2 separate regions of the Homo sapiens genome follow, and region 2 is linked to region 1. The links are contacts of gene promoters, found by promoter capture Hi-C in blood cells and fetal thymus (Javierre and others, 2016). All regions are on one chromosome and are shown on one strand. The core of a region is centred on a gene start or on the middle of the fragment in contact, and the rest is flanking DNA. Distances in the headings are between cores, read along the strand shown. Region 1 holds the start of CRB2 (crumbs cell polarity complex component 2). Region 2 overlaps STRBP (spermatid perinuclear RNA binding protein).

Region 1 (5,213 bases), core at 310-2,809:
GCCACACAGGTGTGCGGAGTGTGGGTGTGTGAGCATCACAGGGCAGGGGACAGAGCACCGATCCACAGACCGGGATCTCACGTGCTTTGTATGCAGAGAACAGAGAGGAGCAGCCACCCCGCCCCCCGCCACCATGCCCCACCCCTCTATGGAGCCCAAGTCGCCTGCCAGCAGAGCCCAGCTCATAAGTCCCCGTCCCTCTCTGAGCCTTGGTTTCCTTCACTGCAAAATGGGGTCCTCATCCTCCCTAGGGCCCCATAGAGAGGATAGGAAATGAAAGCTTTGTGAGTGCGGGAAACATGAGGGTCCCCAGGTGGGACTGGGAGACACTTGGCCCCCACACCCTACAGCCTGTGGAGCTCTGGGGCAGGGAGGGCTCCCCCAGCCTCAGGAGAGCCCAGGCCCTCCTTGGCTCCCTCCCCAGCCTGTGGTGGTGGGGGCAGGGGACTTCCCAGGCCCGGCCCCTGTAACTATAGTAACTAACACCAAGCGTTCCCTTGGACCCCCCAGGAGGAATTCCAGGCTCCGAGAGCTTGGACAAAAGCAAAAAGGGCTTGGCAAATGTGGTCTGGCTTCAGGGAGCCCTTTCAGATTGGCCTTGGAATGCTGGGGAGGGGGCAGCAGGGGACACACACATGTTCCCAAATCCCCAGCCACCCCACAGGGACCCAGAGCATCCCCAGCAGCCCTCAGCACAGGCAGGGCTACCGCACAAATGGAGGGGTGCGGGCAGGCACCCAGCTCCCTGAGTCTCCCTCACGCTTCTCCACTCAGTCCCGAGTTGGGGTCGGCTGTGCACATCCCACACCCCTCATGTTGAGAGCAAAGACCTAGTTCAACCCTGGACAACCTACACCCCACAGCGTGTGCTAGGACACAGCTCACCACACCCAACTCCTCGGACACAACTCACGGCTCACCCCAGACAGCTCATCCACCTCCCAACTCTAACACACCCACAACCTGTGCCCCACAACCCAGCATGCGACACAGAACAAGCTCTGGGGTGAGGCTTATGCCACCTGCAACTCCCCAAACTCAGCCCCTAGAAACCCAGAAGTCCCCCAGCCCTTTACAGGATGCAACACAGCACCTCCCAAAACACGCACCCCATCCCTCACCCGCATCAGCTCCCCCAAATCATGCCCAGCCCCCGATCCCCCAACCCCGAAACTTACAACCCCCCTCAACATGAAACAGCCCCGAGCCTCAGAACACACTCACCTCCGTGGAGCCCCACAGAGTCTGGGGGCCACAGCCGCGCACTCCTGTGCACCCCACAGCTCAGGCCTGCACCCACGCGGACCAGCCCACCCACCACCCCAGCAGCCAAGGCTTGGGGTATCTGTCTTGGGGGACAGACCCTCTCCCAGGCCCCTCCAGACATGGGCCCCAACTCACCAGCCAGGAGGGAAAGGGCAGGGGCCCAGAGCAGCAGTAGCAGGACAGAGGCCAGGGCCTGGGGGTCCGGGGTCCCAGGCCTGGCCAGCGCCATGGCAGCCCGCTCTGCGCTCTGCTCGGCTGCTGTGAGAACGGGAGGGCGGCCTGGCTGGCTCCGCACCCCCCTCGTCCCTCCAACCAGCACTAATGCTGTGGACAGAGGCCCAGCCCCTCCCTCCCCTCCCCGCCACCGCCTCCTCCTCCCACCCAGGCCTCCTGGGCTGCTCCACCTCGTGGACGTCCCTAGACATCAGCCCCAAGTCCTCAAGCCCCCTAGCCTGTGGGGCTGACCTGGTCTTGGCACCCACTGGTTTCTCCCTCCTGACCCTCTGCCCCACTCTCCTCCCACCTCTCAGGTCAGCCTCCTTGGAGAAATTTCTGTCCTTGGAGAGGGGGCTGTTCAGGACTCTCGTCTCACCAGGTGATGCCAGCTACTCCCAAGTCCTTAGTTATCCCCTCTCCTGGATCCCCCTCCCCACCTCTCCAGCCCGGGCCTCTCTCCCAAGCCCAGGCCTTCGAGTCCAGTCGCCTCCCAGACCCTGTCTCTGCTGGGAAGCTGCAGCCCCTCCCACCCAGCTCGTCCCCCCACCTGCTGCTCCCCAGTGCTCCCATCGGAGCCAAGGCACCTCCCATCGGGCAGCCCAACGCCCCCTCCCCACTCCCCCCTCCCCACACTCGGTCAGCCCCTAGCTCCTGGCCATGCCACCTTCTCAGTGTCTCCTGCTGTCCCCACCCCGTCCCACCCGACCACACACAGCTCCTCCCACCATCGGCCTCAGGATCAGCTCCCTGCAGGGCACCTCACCCCTGCACCACGGTGGTCCCTGCCTCCCTTTACCCTCTCCACCCTTCACCAGCCAAACTGAACCTTTCCCAGCTTTCTTCCACTTGACCTTGATCTCTGGCTCTGCTGTTTGCAACTCCAGCGACCTCACTGCAATCCAAAGCAGCCCATTCTACTGAAAGGCAGCTCTAACCAAGCAAGCATTGCTCTCCCCTGCCAGGAAGTCCTTCTTGTTGTCTAACCTTATAGTCTCCTGCTGCACTCGATGTTTGCTTGCTCTCCAGCTGGCCTCTTGTTGGGGTGGACAGGAGGAGCTCTTCAGGGGGACCTGGTTCAGGAAGCCAGGTCATCTCAGAGACACTACAACATAGAACAACATTCCTTTCTTCTACCACCCTCAGCCCCAGTGGGGAGAGAATCCTCTTGCTGAAGGGACTTTCCTGAAATGAGCCACCGGCCCCTGCCAATACATGCCTGTTTGTCCCTATTCAGTAACCGTGGATACAGCCCACGCAGGCCCTGGGCTCTGGGATGTGTCCCTGACACGGGAGGACACAGCCTGGAAAGACAGCAGGAGCCATTGAGGGAGGTCCAGATGAGCTAGAGGGATGGGCAAGGGTCCCCTGCAGTGCAGGGGAGGGAGCAGTGGGCACCACACAGGCCCTGGCCGACCCTCTAGCCCGGGGCAAGTGCCACAGCCCTGGGTCCCCAGGGACCAAAGGAGGGAACCCAAAAAGGCCTGGGTAGACTCCTTATCCACTGCCCCTGCCCCATCCCTGCCCTTGAGGCCTGTTCTCTCCAGGGCAGGGATTGCCCCTTGGTTTCTGGGACACTAACCTCTCTCAGTCCATCTTTAATCCCCTGCCTCTCCAATACAACAGGATCCCTCTCCCCAGGTGGGAGAAGCCCCTCTCCATGCCACAGGAAAAGCAGAGGCCTCACAGCGTAAGAGATCTGGGTTCGAGCCCAGCTCAGCCACTGATTAGCCGGTGACCTCAGCACGTGACTTCCTTCTCTGGGCCTCAGTCTCCTCACCTGTAAAATGGTGGCGTTAGTGAGCCAAGGCGACAGTGCCAGCTCTCTTTATCCAGCTTCTCAGTGATCCCCCAGAGACCCAGGCAATCCCAATGGGGGGCTGGGGGGAGCACGGCAAGTCAACCACCACCCTCTGGTTCTCTGGATGCACAGACACAAACTCCCACACTTTCACAGAGCGGGGAGGTCACCCGGCGCAGGTCCAGTCTCCTCTGCAGCCCGGCCCCCAGCACTGTCCTGCAGCCGCCACACTCCACCTTGTGGCCAGACCTGGAAGTGTCTTGTGAGGTCTGGAGGGTATGGAGGGGGGCTCCCCCGACAGCACCGGGTACAGGAGTCCCACGTGACGGGGAGGAAGCCAGGGAGTCGCTGGACAGCAGGCAGGACGGAGGTCAGACAAGGGCACACCATCTTGACCGCTCCCTGGTCCGGATCTGGAGAAGGCAGTAAGAGTGGGCCAGCTCCTCTGAGATGGTCCCCCAGGTGCATCCACTTCCCCTGTCCTCCCCACCTGGGAAGGGAATCGACATAACCTCAGTTTACCCCCCCCCCACCCACCAGCAGCACTGCAAAGTCAGCATTGGCCCCATTCTATGGATGAGGAAACCGAGGCACAGAGAGGTGAGCAGCCCAGCACCAGTGCCTGGCAGGATTCGAGTTGGGTCTGCCCGACTCCAGCCTTTCCACTGGTGAACCTCCGACTGCAGGTTACTAACTGCCCCTCCACTAGCCTGAGCATGACTTGCTGCCACCTCCCTGGCTGAGGGGACGCTGTCCTGGGCCGGGATTCCCACCAACTCTCAAGCTGATGGGCACATGCGACAGCAAGGTTCAGTGGTTGGGAGTCCCAGCTTTGGCATCAGGCAGACCTGGGTTTGAATCCGGTTCCTGCTCTCTGCCCTTAGGTGAGCTTTTGTTGGTCTGTTCCTTTTCTGCGTCTTAGTTCTCCCATCTGTAAATGGGATCATCACAGCATCTGCCTGAGAACATTGCAAGGACTGGGCGGCTGCTGTCAGAGCCTCGTCGTGGGAGGATAGTGACCCTCCCCACTGAGGAGCCCACCAGAAGGAACCCCTTCAGACCCTTCCAGGTGACTCCTGCTCTGGATCATTCCCCAGGGTCTCACATCTCCCTTCTCAGGGTCTCACTGGTTGTTCTGTTTGTCCCTACTCCCCACCCAGAGCCGCCCTTGCCCTGCTGGCACCTGTGGGCTGTGTCATGCTGGCTTCCTTCCATCTGCTTCCTGGAAAGGTGAGCCAGTGGGAGGCACAGGCCGGAGATGCCAGGGAGAGAGGAGATGGAGGTTGGGGTGTTTCTTCCCCTCCTTCTCCCTACATTGGGTATTGGGGTGAGAGTGACTGCAGCTCCAGCTGAGGCCCCTTCGGCTCTCACGGCCCAGGTCCCCCTGCTCCCTCTGTGTCTGAGTCTGGGGCCACCATCAGCCCTGACCTCACTGGGTTTCTCTAAGGCCTTCTCCATTGTCACCCATGCCCTCCTTCTTGGAACTCTGTCCCTGTGGGCTCCCCAACCCCTGCTACCCTGGTCTCTCTACCTTGTTAACCGTTCCTCACTCCTCCTCCCAGAATGTTGTGACCTGTCCGGGTCTGTCTCCAGCCCCCTGCCCTCCTCACTCCACATTCCTCCCTGGACAAGCGTGTCCATGCCCCAGCTTCAGTGACCAGACCTCCACTCCCTCCCAGCCCAGCTCTCACAGGCTCTCCACCAGTGGCACTTAACCTTGTCTCAACATATGTATGCTTGTAACTTCCAAAAGAAAACCAACCCAATGCCCTAACTGAAACATCAGAGGCAGACACTATAGGCCAGTGGTGAGGTGCACAGATGCTGATTCAAATCCCGGCTTCTCCACTTCCCAGCAGCACTGCAAGGTCAGCACTGGCCCCATTCTATGGATGAGGAAACCAAGGCACAGAGAAGTGAGGTTGGCCCAGCA
Region 2 (5,456 bases), core at 2,313-4,812, 210 kb after region 1:
AGTGCCATGGGTAAGAAACAGAATTCTATCAGTGCCCCAGAAGCCATCCGTTTTATCCTTCTCATTACCTTCCTGTACCAAGAAATACCATTTCTGACTTTCTGAAAATCATTTCCTAGATTTTCTTTCCCACTTTCCCACTTGTGTATGCTTTCCTAAATAATTTGAGTTTGCCTGGAACTTTCCAGAAATGGGTCCTAAGTTTAATCTTTCGTGACTGGCTTCTTTCTGTTCAGCATTCTTTGGGATTGATTTATGTTGCTGCACATAGATATAGTTCATTTTAATAGGTATATAGTATCCACTATGAATATGCTAGTTTACTCATTCTACTTTTGAAGGACGTTTAGGTTCTTTAGTTTTGACAACCACTTACCGTGTTGCCATGAGCATTCTTCTGCATACCTCCTGAGGTATACACATAAACAACCTAGTAAATGGTTGCACATACCAATTTACACTCCCACCAGCAGTATATGAAAATTCCTGTTGCCCTGTATCCTCAAAAACATTTGGTATTGCCATGTTTTCTGAAATGAAATACCACTTTTCATTTGACTTCCAGGTCATCAGCTTCCTTTGTTCTTCTAGCTCTGTTGCCATCTCCTCAGCTGTCTTTGTTCTTTCTCATCTTCCTGACTTCTGAATGTTAAAGTGTCCTAGGGTTCAGTCCTCAGACCCTTTCTCTTTACACTGATGCTTTAGGGGACCTCATTTAGTCTCTTGTCTTCAAATACCTTTTTATACTGAAGATTGTCCCAAATTAATACTTCCATCCCAGACTACCAGCTCTTGAACTCAGACCAAAATATCAAAATGCCTCCTCAATATCGCTACATGGATGTCCAGCAGACATCTCAAACTTAAGATGTCTAAGATCTAAGCTCCTGCCCTCGCTCTCCCTTTGCTCTTCTCTTTCTATAGTTATCCCTGTCCCAGTCATTGGAAACTCTCCGTTTGCTCAGGCCAGGATTCTCTGAGTTGCCCTTGAATCCCCTCTTTCATTCACCCATATCCCAAACGTCAGCAAATCCTTTTTGCTTTTAAAGTGTGTCCAGGCCGGGTGGTAGCTCACACCTGTAATCCCAGCACTTTGGGAGGCTGAGGTGGGCAGATCACTTGAGACCAGGAGTTCAAGACCAGCCTGGCCAACATGGCGAAACCCCGTCTCTACTGAAAACATAAAAATTAGCTGGGCGTGGTGGCATGCTCCTGTAATCCCAGCTACTCGGGAGGCTGAGGCAAGAGAATCGCTTGAATCCGGGAGGCAGAGGTTGCAGTGAGCCCAGATCATGCCACTGCACTCCAGCCTTGGTGACAGAGCGAGACTCTGTCTCAGAAAAAAAAAAAAAAATGAGTCTAGAATTTAGCTTCTTCGCTGCTGACATCCTTATCTAAGCTGCCATCATCTCTCACCTGGATTATTGCAGTCACCTCCTGGTCTGGTCTTTTTGCTTCTGTTCTTGCCCCTCTATCTGTTCTCCACAAAGAAGCAATTCTCTTTATGGAGAACACCACCCCTCTTCAACTTTTTATCTTAAAATACTTGCAGATTCATAGTTGCAAAGATGATAAGGAGAGATCCCATTTACCCTTCAGCTAGTTTCTCTTGATGGCTGCATCTATGTAAATTTATAGTACAATATCAAAACCAGGAAATTGACAGTGATACAGTGCGTGTGTGTAAGTTTTATGCCATTTTATTACGTGTGTAGATTTCTGTAGCCACCTCCACAATCAACATACAGAACTGTTCCAACACCATTAAGATCTGCTTCATGCTGCCCCTTTATAGTCGTACCCGCCTCTCTCTGCTCAGCCATCCCTAATCCCGGGAAACCACTAAGATTTACCCATCTCCATAATTTTATAATTTCAGTGATTTTATATAAATGGAATTCTACAATAAGTGACCTTTTGCGATTTTTTTTTTTAACACTCAGCATAATGCCCTTAGGGTCCATCCAAGTTGTTGTGTGTGTCAATAGTTTGTACCTTCTTGTTCAGTAGTATTCCATGGTATGAATGAGCTAGAGTTTATTTAACTGTTTACCTATTGTAGGACATTTAGTTAGTTTCCAGTTTGGGCTTTTTACAGTTGAAGCTTCTATGAACAATCATATATATATACACGTGTGTATATTTATATATAAAATTTAGGTTTTTGTGGGCAAGTCACAAAAACACAGGTTTTTGTGTGTTAGATTTGTCACCAATTCTCCTGTGTTTCGGCTTCAATGTTATGCTGGCTTCATAAAGTAAGTTAGGACCTATTCCTTCTTTTTCTATTGTTTGGAAAAGTTTGCATAAATTTGATGTTAGTTTTTCTTTAACTGTTGGAAGAATTAATCAGTGAAGCCATTGGTGTGTGTTTTCTTTGTGGAAATGTTTTAAATTACGGATCTGATTCCCTTAATAAGCATAGGACTTCCATCTTCTTAGGACAGTTTTGGTAAGCTATGTTTTTCTAAGAATTTATCCATTTCAACTAAATTTAAAAATATTTTAGAATAAAGTAATTTATAAGATCCTCATTTTATTGTCTGTAGTATTTGTAGTAATGTCCTCTTTTATACATTTTGTACCTTATTTTATTTTGCTAATGACTCTCACCTAGGGGATTATTATTTTTATTAATCTTTATAGGAAAATTAACTTTTGGCTTTATTCATTGTCTTCTGTTGCATGTTTGTATTCTGTTTTATTGGTTTCTGCTCTTTTCTGTAGTTTTCCTTCCTTATGACTTTCTTTGGGTTCAATTTGCTGCTCTTTTTAAACTTTATGAGGTGGATGAATACATCATTGATTTTTCATCCTCTTATTTTATATACTATTAAGATGGTAAATTTCCCTTTAAGCACAGATTTATGTACATCACAGTCTTTGGACATTTGTATGTTTATAATCATTTAGTTAAAGCTATTTTTTACTTTCTTTTATTCCTAATTTTTTGACCCATGGGGTATTTAGATGTCATTGCTTAATTTGCAGACAAATGAAGATTTTGTAGTTAACTCTTTTGTTTTTGAGTTTTTACTTATTCTGCTGTCATCGAAGAACATGTGTTGTATGATTTCTGTCCTTTGATACTTCTTGAGACCTATTTTATGCCCCAGCACATGGTCGTTTTTTGCTCTGAAAATGTATATTCTGCAGTTGAGGGTCATAATATTTTTTTCGTGTTAGGTCATGTCAGGTCACTTGTTCATTGTGCTTTTCAGATGTTGTTTGTTATTAATTGCTGAGAGAGCTCTGACAGTTCCCATCTATTGTGGATTTGTCATTTCCCCTTGCAGGCCTGCCAGGTTTTAGTTTATATTTTTCATTTATAGATTTTTGGCTCTTTTATCGTTTCAGATTTTCTGCCTGAAATTATTTTTAAGAAAGTTTGTTTTTGAAAGGTCCATCATCTGGGTCCATTTTGGGTCTTTTTCTATTGTGTGTGATTTCTCTTGATTTTTGATCATGATATCTTCTCATGTGCCTGGTTATTATGAGTGCTGGATTTTTAAAATAAGAAATTGTAGATAATTTAAAGTGTAGAGTAATGATATCTTCCTCCAGGGAGGATTTATATTTGTTTCTGGGAGGTGACTAATGAAATTGGCAGTCTTAGATCATTTCAGTGTAGTCAGGGATTAAGATAATTTGAAGCTGGGCTTTCATCCTTGTGAGAGCCACAAGGATGAAGAAATATTTCCCGTTCATCTTACTTCTAGTGTATAACATTTCAGAGGCCCAACCCAGTGTGTGGGGGGTTCACCAGCCCTTCTCTGCTTGGACCTTGAACTTAGTTTTGGACTCCTTGAGACCTGGGAGCCTGTTGACATTACTCTCTTCAGTTCTTAGTGACCTCTTCTGGATTAGGAAGATGCCCCTAGGGTTAATGTAACCCCCAATGCAGAGAATTTCTTTCACCTTCCATATCTTTTTTTGTTTATTTTAATTAATTAATTTATTTATTTAAGAAAACACGGCTTGGCTATGTTGCCCAGGCTGGAGTCCAGTGGCTATTTGCAGGTGCAGTCATAGCCCACTTTAACCTCAAACTCCTGGACTCAATGAATCCTCCTGCCTCAGCCTTCTGAGTAGCTGGGACTACAGGCATGTGGCACCGTGCCAGGCTCACCTCCCAGATCTTGATTTTAAAATTCTTCATTGCCCAGGAACAGATACTTATTGTTTGTTTTGCCCAGTTTTTCTAATTGCTCTAGTTGGGAAGCCTTTTTTGACTTATTTACTCTCTCATACTGGAAGTGGGCCCTTGATATTTTGTCAATTAATGGCACCGGGGTTTGAGAACTACTGCCTGGCTCTTCTCACCTACTGCTAGCACCCTCTCCTTGTTTGTTTCACTCCAACCACTCAGGCCTTTGCATCATTTCTTAGCATGTTTCTGCCTTAAGACTTTTGTAGTTGCTGTTTATTTTTCTCTGCCTGGGACTCTTTCTCCAAATGGCTGAATAGTTCACTGTTTTACTTTCTCAGGTCTTCATCAAAAGGTCTCCTCATTAGTGATACCTTTCTGCTGAGCACGACATATAAATTGTCCTTCATTACACTCACTACCCATAGTATATGTTGTAATTAGTTTTGGCCAGTATATGTAAGCTCTTTGAGAAAAGGGAGATTATTTTGTTACTTGCTATGTGTCTAGCGCCTAAAATTGTCTTGCACATAGTAAATGTCAATTAATATTTCTTGTTTATTGTTGAATGAATATATGAATGAATTTATAATGGGGACAGTAAAGGTAATGGCTTCATGAGGGTGCTCATGAGGATTAAATAAGTTAATACCTGTAAGATGTTAACAGTGTCAGGCATATGGTAAATACGAAAATATTATTTTTAAAAATTGTTGCCTCAGAAATGATCACTTCTCATCACTAGATATTGTGAAGGTTGAATACCACCTGCTTTTTGTAAAGCAAGACCCTTTTTCTCCTTAGGTTGCTATTATGATTAGCCCCACATTTTACAGCCCCTTTCCAATGGCTGCTATGATAGAATGAAGCTTAATCCATAGAACTCTATGTAGCTGGAGGATTTAGAGAAGAGATCTCTGCATTTAAGCTAGCTTGTGATTTCCAGGCAATCAAGAAGCTGCTTTTAATGTAACTTAATGAGCAGAAGAGTGATTGAATAGACATAGTTCCTTTTTAACTTTTATCTCTTAAAGACTGCATTCTGGGAGACTGGCATACTCATAGTTGTATGTAATGCAAATGAAATATAATACTCAGCCAACGTTGCCTTCTGTTGAAGAGAACATCAAGATTGATTAACCTGAGTGGTAAATATTGACCCAAGCAAATGCTGAAGTCAGTGTTTACCTCAAGGGACAATAAATCTTGATCAGAAAATACATAGTTAATCTCATTATTATTATAGGCTTTCACTAGAAGAATCTGGAAATCTTGTGGCATGAGTATCTTGAGCATAATTTTCCTTAGG

Evidence for each region. The method cuts DNA at HindIII sites, captures the fragments that hold promoters and counts their contacts. A CHiCAGO score of 5 or more calls a contact.
Region 2: a contact is called between a fragment that was not itself captured here and the fragment with the promoter of CRB2 in region 1, in 3 of 17 cell types (naive B cells, total B cells and naive CD4 T cells). The highest score is 7.5, in naive B cells.

What each region holds. Positions count from the first base shown.
Region 1 is chr9:123,352,543-123,357,755 of GRCh38, reverse strand. It overlaps CRB2 (crumbs cell polarity complex component 2), which reads right to left and starts at 1,559. Exons shown (of 13, transcript NM_173689.7): 1 at 1,402-1,559. The coding sequence starts at 1,495. RefSeq lists enhancers at 3,259-3,428, 3,097-3,596 and silencers at 3,559-3,608, 3,629-3,738. The HindIII fragment of the contact is 7,167 bases long and covers 283-5,213 here.
Region 2 is chr9:123,149,090-123,154,545 of GRCh38, reverse strand. The region is part of intron 11 of STRBP (spermatid perinuclear RNA binding protein); the gene reads left to right. Among named protein-coding and RNA genes, the nearest start is that of MIR600HG, 36 kb to the right of the region's middle. The HindIII fragment of the contact is 2,912 bases long and covers 2,107-5,018 here.